Regions from separate parts of the Homo sapiens genome. Here region 2 is linked to region 1. Evidence: promoter capture Hi-C in 16 types of primary human blood cells and fetal thymus (Javierre and others, 2016). All regions are on one chromosome and are shown on one strand. Each heading gives the region's core, a stretch centred on a gene start or on the middle of the fragment in contact. The rest is flanking DNA. Distances are from core to core; before and after follow the strand shown.

Region 1 (5,931 bases), core at 547-3,046:
TCTCTACTAAAAATACAAAAAAATTAGCCGGGCGTGGTGGTGCACGCCTGTAATCCCAGTTACTTGGGAGGCTGAGGCAGGAGAATCGCTTGAACCAGGGAGGTGGAGGTTGTGGTGAGCCAAGATCTGGCCACTACATTCCAGCCTGGGCAACAAGAGCGAAACTCCGTCTCAAACCAAACAAAACAAAAAACAAACTTCTAGAGCGGGAAAAGATGGAGGCGGCAATCAGATTTCTCTCAAACCACGAACACAGGGGTCGGTATCTGAGGCGCCGGCACCAGACACGGCAGGGTCTGAGTGCTCCCTGACAAGCGATGATGCGCAGGCTTGGAGCCATGCCAGTGACACGCCTAGGAAAGTTCACGCACCGCCCAGCACGCCTGCGCATGCCTGTTCCCGCTCCCTGGTGCCCCGGGCGCCTGCCTGTCCCGGCTCCCATGGGTGCTGGGTGTGTGGAAGCTCCGGCCCCCTCGGGCTGGGTTCATTGGGGTCCTCCTGTGTGGTCAGTGGACTCTGTACCCCCACAGCACCTGAGGGGTGGCTGACACTGCTTTCCCAGCTGCTGCAGGGGCTCAGGGAACACAGGTGACCCCACGTCTCTACCGAGAATGAGCACACCAACACCTCTCAGAAGACAGCTGCAGCCTGCAGAGGCCATGGACCCCACCCAGGCCCACGGTGTGGACGGCTCTGCCCTGGTCTCTGCTGAGCCAGGCCCAGAGGGGACCCCAGGTGAGCAGCAAAGCCCCCCAGGCCTGGGGCTAGACCGGGCTAACCCTTCCTGCTCAGCACCTGTTCACCTGTCCCCTCTGCTGGTGGCCTCCTGTCCTCCCGCTCTGGGCTCAGCAGCAGCCCCGTGGAGAGGCCCTGCCACCACCCCCGCCCTGCTGGAGACAGGCCTCCTACGCGGGCTCCTGCAGCCGGTCGCCCTGGGCCTCCTAGAAGCCGGGGATCCTCTGCTGACCACCGGCAGAAAACGTGCTTCTCAAGCTGCAGGTGATTCACCAGTAGTGGGCAAGGAACTGAATGTGGTGATTACTGCGGAGTCAGCAAAACCCGCGTGAGAACGGGCAGCTGAGGGCCTGCCGGGTGAGGGAAGCCTCACGGTTCCTGTTTCATGAGTTTGCTGTGAGTGCACACGAGGCTGTGGCTGTGGAGTGTGCAACAGTCCACGCGTGCCTGCGTGTGCTCATGTGCGTGTGTCCACCAGCTTGTGTGCACGCATATGAGCGAGTGCGTTTTGCTCCCAGCTTGGTCGCAGCGACGGCGCAGGGAACCCCGGGTGAGGCCGAGGACCGGGAAGGGAGGAGGGGGCTCCGACCCATCGGACTTAGGGGAGCCCCGGGTCCGAGACGCCGCCTCTGTCCCTTCAAGAGTCGAGCCTGGCGCACAGGGCAGGGACGCGGGTCCCCACACCGGCCGGCAGCTCGTTCCCGCCCATACTCGGGTACGCCCGCTGCGACCCCGCCCGCCTGGCCTGCGACGCACGCTCAGGGCCAGCGGGGGGTGACGGTCCCAGAGGCAGAGGCGCCGCAGCCCCAGAGTCCCCATCCCTGCGCGGACCGGCAACCCCAGTGCACCAAGAGGCCCTAACACCGAGCCCCCAGCACCGAGTCCCCAGCACCGGGCCCTCAGCACCGAGTCCCCAGCACCGAGTCCCCAGCACCGAGTCCCCAGCACCGAGCCCGCCCCTCTGGTTCCCCCGCCCGCCCCTCTCCGCGCCTCACCGGGTCCGCTCCTGGACGCGCTCCTCTGGGATGCAGCTTCTCCGCGCCCCGGAGCCCCAGGAAAATGAAAGACACGAGAGGGAGGGGCCAGGGAGGAGGCGGCGGACCCGCGCGGGACCCACCTCCCAGATGAGGAAGGAGCTGGGTTTACGGGAAGCCTCCAAGTTTCGGGAACCACCCGCGTTCACAACAAGCGTGACGGTGAATTTATTATTTTCACGGGAGGCACCGCACCCGCGGTTCACGCTAAAGGAAGCAGGAAAGCCGCCGGGAGCATTTTTCCAGGAGAGTTCGTGCCTGGGCGGGTCCAGCTCGCGTGCGGCGCGCGTTCCCCGCGGGGCTGTTTGGCTCCGCTCCTGGAGGCCTCGAGTCTGTGCACGGGGCGAGCTGGGCGGGCCGAGTGGGCCGCGGGGAGGGAGGGCGGGGGGCGGCCCCCAGATGCCTGGGAGTGCGCGGGCAGAGTGAGCTGGACCCCCGGAGGGTCAGAGGCCCTTTCATAAAAGCGCGCAGAGCAGAGGAGTGATGTCCCCCAGCTCCCCCGCAGAGGGTCCTGCACCTGCGGCCTGGGCCTTCAGGCGTCCTGCGGCCCCTGCGGAGGTGCTGGCCTGGCCAGCCCGGGAGGAGGGGCCCAGCCTGTTGGGGCAGGAGATTGGGGTGCGGGTAGAAGGCTCCAAGACGCATCCGGGCCGGGAACCCACAGACATCCCAGGTGGGCAGGAGGTGGCTCGAGGAGGCCTGGAGGACCCGGCGCCTGGCGGGGTGGCAGGCGGGCCACGTCCTCCACTAGAACCCGAGGGGGCACGCGGGCAGGTGCGGGCGGGGTCAAGGATGACCAGGTATCTTCGGGACACTAGGAGGAGGCCCCACAGGCTGCAGTCACGTGAGTGGGCAAGTCCCCACCGGGCAGATGATGGGGGACACTGGGGCGTGGGCAATGCCCCCAGTTTCATGGAAGAGAGGAAGAAGCAGAACCAAACTCCGGGAAACCCTCAAATGTGGGGAATGGACGGAGCAGGGCCAGACTGGACGCTGAACCTTGGAGCCTGCAGCTCAGCCATCAGACCCAGGGTCCAGAGGTGGGTGGCACAGAACAAAGTCCCCCGGGATGTTCCAAAAGAGAAACTGTCGCCAAATTGGCAGGTGAAACACAGCCTGTCATCCTCCCAGCAAGACGGCACCATGGCCGGGGCACAGAGGTCAGATTCCCCAGCCCCCGCCCTCGGGGAAACCCCAGCCACCCTGGCTGCCAGTGAGATGCTGGAGAGGGGGCTGAAATCCCACCTGCCCACGTCCTCTGCACAGAGGGGCTTGTCCCCGAGGCCACATCCCCCAGCAGCCACAGCTTCCTTCTCCTTTTTTCCTGCCTACTAGATCTCTCAACTCAGAGGGGGCTGCAGTTCCTGGGGGCAGGGGGGTCCGGCTGCTTAGGCAGGAGCACCTGCACCGTGAGGCTCTGGAGGGCAGCTGAAGGCTGGCAGGCTTTTGTCCCGTGAGGGGACACCACTGGGGGTTGGAGGAAAACGCATATCCTGATAAAGCATTTCATGTTGTGAAAGTGAAACTAGTTTGTTTATTTTGGAAGTAATACAGGCACAGAAACAAAATAGAATGAAACCAACTGTTGCCTTTTCCTCCCCACCCTGGCTTCAATTCCCAGGTTGAGTTATGGACACTGCCTTACCTATCCTTCTAGAAGTTTTCCTGGTCCATACAAACAGCACAGCCATCCACTCACGTTTATTTCTTTCTTTTTTTTGAGACGGAGTCTCTGTTGCCCAGGCTGGAGTGCAGTGCTGCAGTCTCGATCACTGCAACCTCTGCCTCCCAGGTTCAACTGATTCTCCCACCTCAGCCTTCTGAGTAGTTGGGATTGCAGGCATGTATCACCACGCCCAGCTAATTTTTGTAGTTTTAGTAGAAATAGGATTTCATCATGTTGGCCAAGCTGGTCTCGAACTCCTGACCTCAGGTGGTCCGCCTGCCTTGGCCTCCCAAAGTGCTGGGGTTACAGGTGTGAGCCACCACATCTGGGCAGTATCTTTCCATTTCTTTTTTTTGTTTTGAGACGGAGTCTCGCTCTGTCGCCCAGGCTGGAGTGCAGTGGCGCAATCTCGGCTCACTGCAAGCTCTGCCTCCTGGGTTCACACCATTCTCCTGCCTCAGCCTCCTGAGTAGCTGGGACTACAGGCGCCCGCCACCACGCCCAGCTAATTTTTCTGTATTTTTAGTAGAGACGGGGTTTCACCGTGTTAGCCAGGATGGTCTGGATCTCCTGACCTTGTGATCCGCCCATCTTGGCCTCCCAAAGTGCTGGATTACAGGCGTGAGCCACTGCACCCGGCCGTATCTTTCCATTTCTATACAATGCTGGGATCAGGCATCTTAGAGCGGATGTGTGGATTCATTCACCCTCAGCCTGTCCTTGAATCACAGCCTCTGCTGTGCCAGGTGACATGTGGAGTTTCATTTCCTTTCTGTTCGAGGAATTTGTAGATTTCAGTTATGATTTTCTGTTTAACTCTCCAAATTATTCGGCAGCATATTCTTAAAATCCCCAAGGTCCTGGAGCATTTGCTTTTCTTTTTTTTGGAGACAGAGTCTTGCTCTGTCGCCCAGGCTGGAGTGCAGTGGTGCGATTTCGGCTCACTGCAACCTCCGCCTCCCTAGTTCAAGCGATTCTCCTACCTCAGCCTCCTGAGTAGCTGGAACTACAGGCACGTGCCGCCACGCCCAGCTTTTATTTATTTATTTATTTTATTTTTGGTAGAGACGGGTTTCACTATGTTAGCCAGGCTTTTTTTTTCTTGAACTCCTGAGCTCAGGCAATCCACCCGCCTCGGCCTCCCAAAGTGCTGGGATTACAGGCGTGAGCCACTGTGCTGGCGGCATTTGCTTTTCTTTGTAACTTGATTCTCTGGGTTCCCTTGCCTTTCATCCTTGCCCACCCACGTGACTGCAGCCTGTGGGGCTTCCTCCTAATGTCCCGAAGATAACTCGTCATCCTTGACCCCGCCGCCACCTCGGGTTCTAGTGGAGGATGTGGCCCGCCTGCCACCCCCACAGGCACCGGGTCCTCCAGGCCTCCTTGACCCACTTCCAACCCACCTGGGATGTCTGCGCGTTACCAGCCCAGATGCCTCTTGGAGCCTTCCACCTGCACCCCATCTCCTGTCCCAACAGGCTGGGCCCCTCCTCCCGGGCTGGCCAAGCCAGTACCTCCGCAGGGGCCGCAGGTGCAGCACCCTCTGTGGGGGAGCTAGGGGGATCGCTCCTCTGCTCTGCGCACTTTTATGAAAGGGCCTCTGACCCTCCCACTGTCCTGCTCACTCTGCCCGCGCACCCCCGGCCACCTGGGGGCCGCCCCCCAAAGCCCTCGGCCCGTGGACAGACTCGCAGCCTCCTGGGAGCCGAGCCAACCGGCCCCACAGATTTGTGCATGACTCAGTTGTACCCACTGCTCACTGGCTGGAAGGGTCTCACGGGTCCTTCCAACATGTAATATTCTCTGACTGTTGGGAGCAAGGGTCTCTGCAGGTGTCCCTCCTGTCAAGGTGTCAGTGGGGTAGGTTAGGTCTTTTATATACTTGTCAATTTTTTTTTTTTAAGACGGAGTCTCGCTCTGTCGCCCAGGCTGGAGTGCAGTGGCACGATCTCAGCTCACTGCAAGCTCCGCCTCTCGGGTTCACGCCATTCTCCTGCCTCAGCCTCCCCAGCAGCTGGGACTACAGGCGCCCGCCACCACGCCCAGCTAATTTTTTGTATTTTTATATACTTGTCAATTTGTATGGGCTTGAGCTATCAGTAATTAAGAGAGATAGGTTGGAATGGCCTCCTATGGTGGGGGCTTAGCAGCCTCTTCTTGTGGTTCTAGGAATTTTTAATCATATATTTGGAGGCTTTTTTTTTTTAAGAGATGGGGTCTCCTGTAGTTGACCAGGCTGGCTTGCAGTGGCTGTTCACTGGCAGGATCGTAGCTCAATGTACCCTGACCTTCTGGGCTCAAGCGATCCTCCAGCCTCAGCTTTCTGAGTAGCTGGCACCACAGGCAGGCACCACAGATAAAAAGTCTAAAATGTTTGCTTCAGTCTTTGTCGTTTTGTTGCTCTTGTTCTTGTCTTGTGCTAACCTAATTCTAATTTATCTATTTTATAATATTCGGAAGTTTTAAAATATGAGGCTAATTTTAAATTCTTACCCAGCA
Region 2 (6,827 bases), core at 754-3,253, 90 kb after region 1:
GTGACACATGCCTGTAGTCCCAGCTACTTGGGAGTCTGAAGCAGGAGAATTGCTTGAACTCAGGAGGCAGAGGTTGCAGTGAGCCAAGATTGCGCCACTGCACTCCAGCCAAGGTGACAGAGCAAGACACCATCTCAAAAAAAGAAAAAAAGAAGCAAAAAAGAGTGTTGTTTAACATCATACAAAGATAGGTAAGAAAAAAGAAGGCCAGGCACGGTGGCTCACGCCTGTAATCCCAGCACTTTGGGAGGCCGAGGAAGGTGGATCACAAGGTCAGGAGATGAAGACCATCCTGGCCAACACAGTGTCTCTACTAAAAATACCAAAAATTAGCCCCGTGTGGTGGCGGCGCCTGTAATCCTGCTACTCGAGAGGCTGAGGCAGGAGAATCACTTGAACCTGGGAGGTGGAGGTTGCAGTAAGCCGAGATTGTGCCACTGCGCTCCAGCCTGGGTGACAAGAGTGAGACTCTGTCTCAAAAAAAAAAAAAAAGAAAAAAGAAGATGATCTGAATAGCATTGCAGCAGTGAAGGTGCTCCAGACACACAGGCCCACCCAGCAGGAAACACTGTTCCATAATATTTCATAACAAGATAAAAGATACTCAGAAGATGACGGAAGCTGTGAAAGAACAGCATAAATCAGAAATAGAAAAGCCCAGGCCAGGCTCAGCGGCTCACAACTGTAATCCCACCTACTTGGGAGGCTGAGGCATGAGAATCACCTGAACCTGGGTGGTGGAGGTTGCAGTGAGCCAAGATCGTGCCACTGCACTCCAGCCTGGGCGATAGAGCAAGACTCAGTCTAAAAAAAAAAAAGCCCAGAAATGTGGTAATCAGACAAAAGGAGGTTGTAAAAAATTGCCTGTGGAGCTCAGAAATGAATTATAAGGAAAAAACAATGTTTTTAATGAAGACTAAACTATAAGAAGTGTACAAGTGAGTAGACACCATGGAAAGTGCAGTATTTGGAAACAGATGACAGAAAAGAAAAAAGCAAACAGAGATGAAAAGGCGTTCTGACAAATTGAATATGGCAAAGAAGACTGAACTTACATACAGCTGATGAAGAGGCATTTTGACTTGGGCCAGGCGCGGTGGCTCATGCCTATAATCCCAGCACTTTGGGAGGCTGAGGAGGGTGGATCACCTGAGGTCAGGAGTTCGAGACCAGCCTGACCAACATGGTGAAACCCTGTCTCTATTAAAAATACAAAAATTAGCCAGGCGTGGTGTCAGGTGCCTGTAATCTCAGCTACTCGGGAGACTGAGGCAGGAGAATTGCTTGAACCCGGGAGGCGGAGGTTGTGGTGAGCTGAGATCGTGCCACTGCACTCCATCCTGGGGGACAAGAGCAAAACTCCATCTCAAAAAAAAAAAGAAAGGAAAGGCGTTCTGACAATTGAATATAGGCAAAGAAGATCCAACTTACACACAGCTGGAGTCCCTGTTTCCATCATCTGTTGCTGCGTGACAGATCTCCCCAAACTTGAGGTCCCCATTCATCACCCCTTGTGTTTCTGTGGGTTGGCTGCGTGATTCTGCTTTTCTGACCGAGGTGCCCTCAGGTGGTCACAGCCCCGTAACATCTAGAAACCTCTGATGGTCCGCGTGGCCTTCCATGTCCGGCAGTTCATCCCAACTGTCAGCTGGGGCTCCTTAGTTCTCCTGCATGTGTGTCATCCAGGAGGCCTAGCATGTGCCTGTAGTCCCAGCTCCTTGGAAGGCTGAGGCTGGAGGATCACTTGAGCCCAGGAGTTGGGTGCTGCAGCGAGCCATGATCATGCCAGCACGCTCCAGCCTGGGCAACAGAGTGAGACCCCATCTGTTAAAAAAAAGAGAGAGGCCGGGCACAGTGGCTCACACCTGTAATCCCAGCATTTTGGAAGGCCGAGGGGCAGATTACCTGAGGTCAGGAGTTCGAGACCAGCCTGGCCAACATGGTGAAACCCCGTCTCTACTAAAAATACAAAAATTAGCTGGGCATCGGGGCGGGCGCCTGTAATCCCAGCTACTCGGGAGGCTGGGGCAGGAGAATCGCTTGAACCCGGGAGGCAGAGGTTGCAACGAGCCAAGATCACGCCACTCCACTCCAGCCTGGGCGAGAGAGCGAGACTCCATCTCAAAAAAAAAAAAAAAAGAGAGAAAGACAAGGAAGTGGGGAGGAGAATAAGGGGGAAGGGACCCCATGAGTACAGACCAGGAACGAATGAGTTCTGCACCCCTCTCTCACCTCCCCCAGGTGCTGACCCCAACCCTTCAGAGCCCTGCTCCCCCTGCCCCGGCTCCTCCTGCCCCGTCCCCCATGCCTTGCCATTCTCCTTCAGCCTGGCTGCCCTGTCCCCCATGCCTTGCTGGTGCCCCTCAGCCTGGCTGCCTTGCTGGGCCGCCGTGCATGAAGAGCTGCTTCTTGGTGGCTCCCTGCTGGCCGGACCCGTCCCTCCCAAGCTGAGCCACCAGCGCGTTGAGTAGCAGCCCTGTTTCATAGCATATCTCCCCTTCTGTGCAAAATAGTCACTGGAACGGGGAGTTTCATTTGGCATAACGTAAAGTACACATTCCGGATTTAAGGTTCCCAGGAGAAATAGAAGTAGCAACTCCCACAGTCTCCACAGGCTGAAAGGGAAGGCGTCTCCCTGCTGTGGACTTGCCACATCGTGCTCCAGCAGCCACTTCTTCCTAACCCCTCCCTGTTTACCCCCCAGATTTTTCCTCTGTTCCGTGCGCTAGGTGCAAACGGCCTCCTCATTGAGTATGAAGACATGTTTCCCTACGAGGGCCCTCTGAGGCTGCTGAGGGCCAAGTACGCCTACAGGTAACACTGCCCGTGGCAGGTACAGGGGCGCGGCGTGAAAGCGGGGAAGGGGGGGTTCCGCAGGGCAGGAGGAGCAGCAACCTGGAGGTGCGGGTGGCACAGTCAGGAACTGAACAGTGGTGGGTACATTCCTTTTTTGTCTTTTTAAATTCATCTCTTTAATTGTATGAAAACAAAGTTTCATTTCAAACATTCACTGGAGAGAATTTTGAAACATTTAAAGGGAAAGTAAGCATCAGCAGCGCCCCCTACAGGGAAGAGCTGCAGTTCCTGTCTCTGTCCTGCAGGCGTTTCTTCTGTTGATGGGAGAAGGCTGGACTACAGAAGGTTAGAGAAGGTTAGAGAAGGTTAGAGAAGGCCAGAGAAGGAAGGCCAGAGAAGGCTGGGCTAGAGAAGGCTAGAGAAAGCTGGAGAAGGCTAGAGAAGGCTGGAGAAGGCTGGAGAAGGCTGGACTACAGAAGGTTAGAGAAGGCCAGAGAAGGCTGGGCTAGAGAAGGCCGGAGAAGGCTGGAGGAGGCTAGAGAAGGCTGGAGGAGGCTGGAGGAGGCCAGAGAAGGCTGGAGAAGGCTGGAGAAGGCTGGAGGAGGCTGGGCTAGAGAAGGCCGGAGGAGGCTGGAGGAGGCCAGAGAAGGCTGGAGAAGGCTGGAGGAGGCTAGAGAAGGCTGGAGGAGGCTGGAGGAGGCCGGAGAAGGCTGGAGGAGGCTGGAGGAGGCTGGGCTAGAGAAGGCCGGAGGAGGCTAGAGAAGGCTGGAGAAGGCTGGAGAAGGCTGGGCTAGAGGTTAGAGAAGGCTAGATAAGGTTAGAGAAGGCCAGAGAAGGCTGGGCTAGAGAAGGCTGGAGGAGGCCAGGGAAGGTCAGAGGAGGCTGGAGAAGGCTGGAGGAGGCTGTAGAAGGCTGAGCTAGAGAAGGCTGGAGGATGCTGGAGGAGGCCTCCGCGCAGGGAGGGGCTGCTCTTCAGGCCACAGTTGAGCCTTGAGTTAGAGAAGAGAAGAATTAAAGGGGAGAGAATCAAAATCAATAAAATCAGGTGTGGTGGAGATGGGAGGCCCCTGCTTAATGCTAAAATCACAGGTCTCTGTGAAAATCAATAACGGCCCCAAAGATAAATGCACAATGGACATTAACTGGCCAATCCCAAAGGAAGAAACAAAAAAGGCCAATAAGCATATAAGAAAATGTGAAGGCCAGGAGCAGTGGCTCACGCCTGTAATCCCAGCAATTTGGGAGGCCAAGGTGGGCAGATCACTGGAGCTCAGGAGTTTGAGACCAGCCTGGGTAACATGGTAAAACCCCATCTCTATGTGAAATACAAAAATTAGGCCGGGTGCAGTGGCTCACGCCTATAATCCCAGCACTTTGGGAGGCCGAGGTGGGTGGATCACTTGAGCTCAGGAGTTCGAGACCAGCCTGGGCAACATGGTGAAACCCCATCTCTACATAAAATGCAAAAAATAGCCATGGATAGTGGCATGGGGCTGTAGTCCAAGCTACTCAGGAGGCTGAGATAGGAGGATGGCTTGAGCCTGGTGTTAGGTTTTTTTAAAGGGAAGGCGAGGGTTAAAGAAAGACAGAGAGAGAGAGGGCGTCTCTACAGCAACAGAGGTATAGTGCAGAAACCTACAGAGGGGGGACCAGCTTAATGCCAGAGCCCACCGCCGCTTACAGGCTGGGGTACTTACAGGCCTGGACGGGAGGGGTTTGGGCAGTAGGGCTTCTGCCTGGGAAGATGTTGAGAGATGTTCCCATGATGAGGCAGTTGGGTCCTTGTTCCCAGCAGAATATGATCAGGATGTTCCTTCAGCTGGGCCTTTGCCCAGCAAGGTATGTTCGGGATGTTCCTGGGCCGTGTGGTCGGGTGGTCGGGATGTTCCTGGGCCGTGTGGTCAGGATGTTGGGCAGGATGTTCCTCACAGCCCAAACCCCGTGGAATGTTTCACTTCAACCTGGGTCTGGAAAACAGCAGGGGGCTTACAAAATGGTGCAGTTTGGATTAACACCCAGGACCCAGAGGCTGCAGTGAGCTGAGATGGCGCCACTGCACTCCAACCTGGGCAACAGAGCCAGAGCCTGTCTCAAAAGAAAAGGAAAGAAAGAAAGAAAATGTTAAACCCTCATAGTACTCAAATCAAAGAAACTAAATCAATAATGCAACACCATCCTGGCTACCAAACTGGTAAGCCTTTTTTAAAAATTATAAGACTTGGGCTGGGCGCTGTGGCTCACGCCTGTAATCCCAGCACTTTGGGAGGCTGAGGCAGGCGGATCATGAAGTCAGGAGTTTGAGACCAGCCTGACCAACATGGCAAAATCCTGTCTCTACCAAAAAAAATACAAAAATTAGCTGGGCGTGGCCAGGCGCGGTGGCTTAACGCCTGTAATCCCAGCACTTTGGGAGGCCGAGGCAGGCGGATCACAAGATCAGGAGATCGAGACCATCCTGGCTAACACAGGTGAAACCCCGTCTCTACTAAAAATATAAAAAATTAGCCAGGCATAGTGGTGGGCGCCTGTAGTCCCAGCTACTCGGGAGGCTGAGGCAGGAGAATGGCGGGAACCCAGGAGGCAGAGCTTGCAGTGAGCTGAGATTGCGCCACTGCGCTCCAGCCTGGGCGACAGAGCTAGACTCCGTCTCAAAAAAAAAAAAAAAAAATTAGCTGGGTGTGGTGGTGCGCACCTGTAATCCCAGCTACTCAGGAGGCTGAGGAAGGAGAATTGCATGAACTCAGGAGGCAGAAGTTGCAGTGAGCCGAGATCGCGCCACTGCACTCCAGCCTGGGTGACAGAGCAAGACTCTGTCTCAAAATAATAATAAATAAAATAAATGAAAAATTGTAAAGACTGTGTTGATGAGAATGAGAAAGAGGAAAACTACCTGCTGATGAACATAATATGACATCTGTTCTGGAAGGACTTCGGTTCCATGTGTCAAAACTCCAAAATGCCTGCACCCCATGCAGCCCACATGTGGTTAGACCAGAAGTGATGAACGGTGAGCCAGGGTGTTGGCCTGCAATGAGATAATCAGGTGCGATGAGATGATCAGGTGCGATGAGATGATCAAGTGCGATGACATGATCAGGGGTTTGCATTTTCTTCATACTCTTCTAGTTTTCTTCCTACAGTGAAGACATTTTGTCTTTTGATGTGAAAAAGTAAAGTACCAGGGTTCCTTCGAAGCTTGAAACAGGAATGTTTAAAGACTTTATGTAACTCATAAATCTATAGAACGGATTAGCCTAAGATGGTTCAAACACATACAAAAACTAGAAATAGCTTTTTTTTAGATAAATTCATAAATGACAGCTCATGTAAAGCTTGTGAAAAACGAAGAGGTCGACCCGGGGCAGTCAGCCCTTCCCAGGATGTGGCCCTTCTGCAGAGGACGGGCGCCCCAGGATTGTTTCAGGTTGAGGACCCTGTGGTGGACCTGCCCTCGGGCAGCTGCTGACCCGGCTCTGGATGGAGTGTGGCACCTTCTGTAGCATTTTTATTTTTTTTTGAGACAGAGTCTTGTTCTGTCTCCCAGGCTGGAGTGCAGTGGTGCGATCTTGGCTCACCGCGAACTCTGCCTCCCGGGTTCAAGTGATTCTCCTGCCTCAGCCTCCCGAGTAGCTGGGATTACAGGTACATACCACCAGGCCTGGCTAATTTTTGTATTTTTAGTAGATACGGGGTTTCATCATGTTGGCCAGGCTGGTCTCGAACTCCTGACCTCAAGTGGTCTGCTGGCCTTGGACTCCCAAAGTGCTGAGATTACAGGCGTGAGCCACTGTGCCTGGCCTTGAGTAGTTTCTTGTAAAATGTGATGACTTCATTCTCTTGTCGTGGGTTGAAAAGCGAACCATTACTTGAGGACGTGCTAGAACATCATCTTCCCAAATTTTGGAGCAGGTACCTTTCCAGAAATCAGGATACCTGTCAAGCTTTGTGGAGTTTAGGGCCTTACTGTTTCCCGGAGAGCCCCCCAGGGCCTGATGAGGAAGGGCTGGGGGGGTGGGTGTGGAAGTCACGTG

What was found. The method cuts DNA at HindIII sites, captures the fragments that hold promoters and counts their contacts. A CHiCAGO score of 5 or more calls a contact.
Region 2: a fragment that was not itself captured here is called in contact with the fragment with the promoter of SECTM1 in region 1 in 4 of 17 cell types (M1 macrophages, M0 macrophages, M2 macrophages and 1 more); the score reaches 6.4 in M1 macrophages.

The regions. Positions count from the first base shown.
Region 1 is chr17:82,331,970-82,337,900 of GRCh38, forward strand. SECTM1 (secreted and transmembrane 1) reads right to left here and starts at 1,797. Exons shown (of 5, transcript NM_003004.3): 1 at 1,731-1,797. RefSeq lists a silencer at 140-424 and enhancers at 301-1,103, 3,151-3,220. The HindIII fragment of the contact is 7,811 bases long and covers 1-5,931 here.
Region 2 is chr17:82,421,690-82,428,516 of GRCh38, forward strand. HEXD (hexosaminidase D) reads left to right here. Exons shown (of 13, transcript NM_001330542.2): 3 at 2,705-2,814. It overlaps HEXD-IT1 (HEXD intronic transcript 1), which reads left to right and starts at 3,636. Exons shown (of 1, transcript NR_170223.1): 1 at 3,636-4,915. LOC124904091 (a long non-coding RNA gene) reads right to left here. Exons shown (of 3, transcript XR_007065958.1): 2 at 5,687-5,821; 3 at 4,223-4,763. RefSeq lists an enhancer at 2,294-3,129. The HindIII fragment of the contact is 7,971 bases long and covers 1-5,989 here.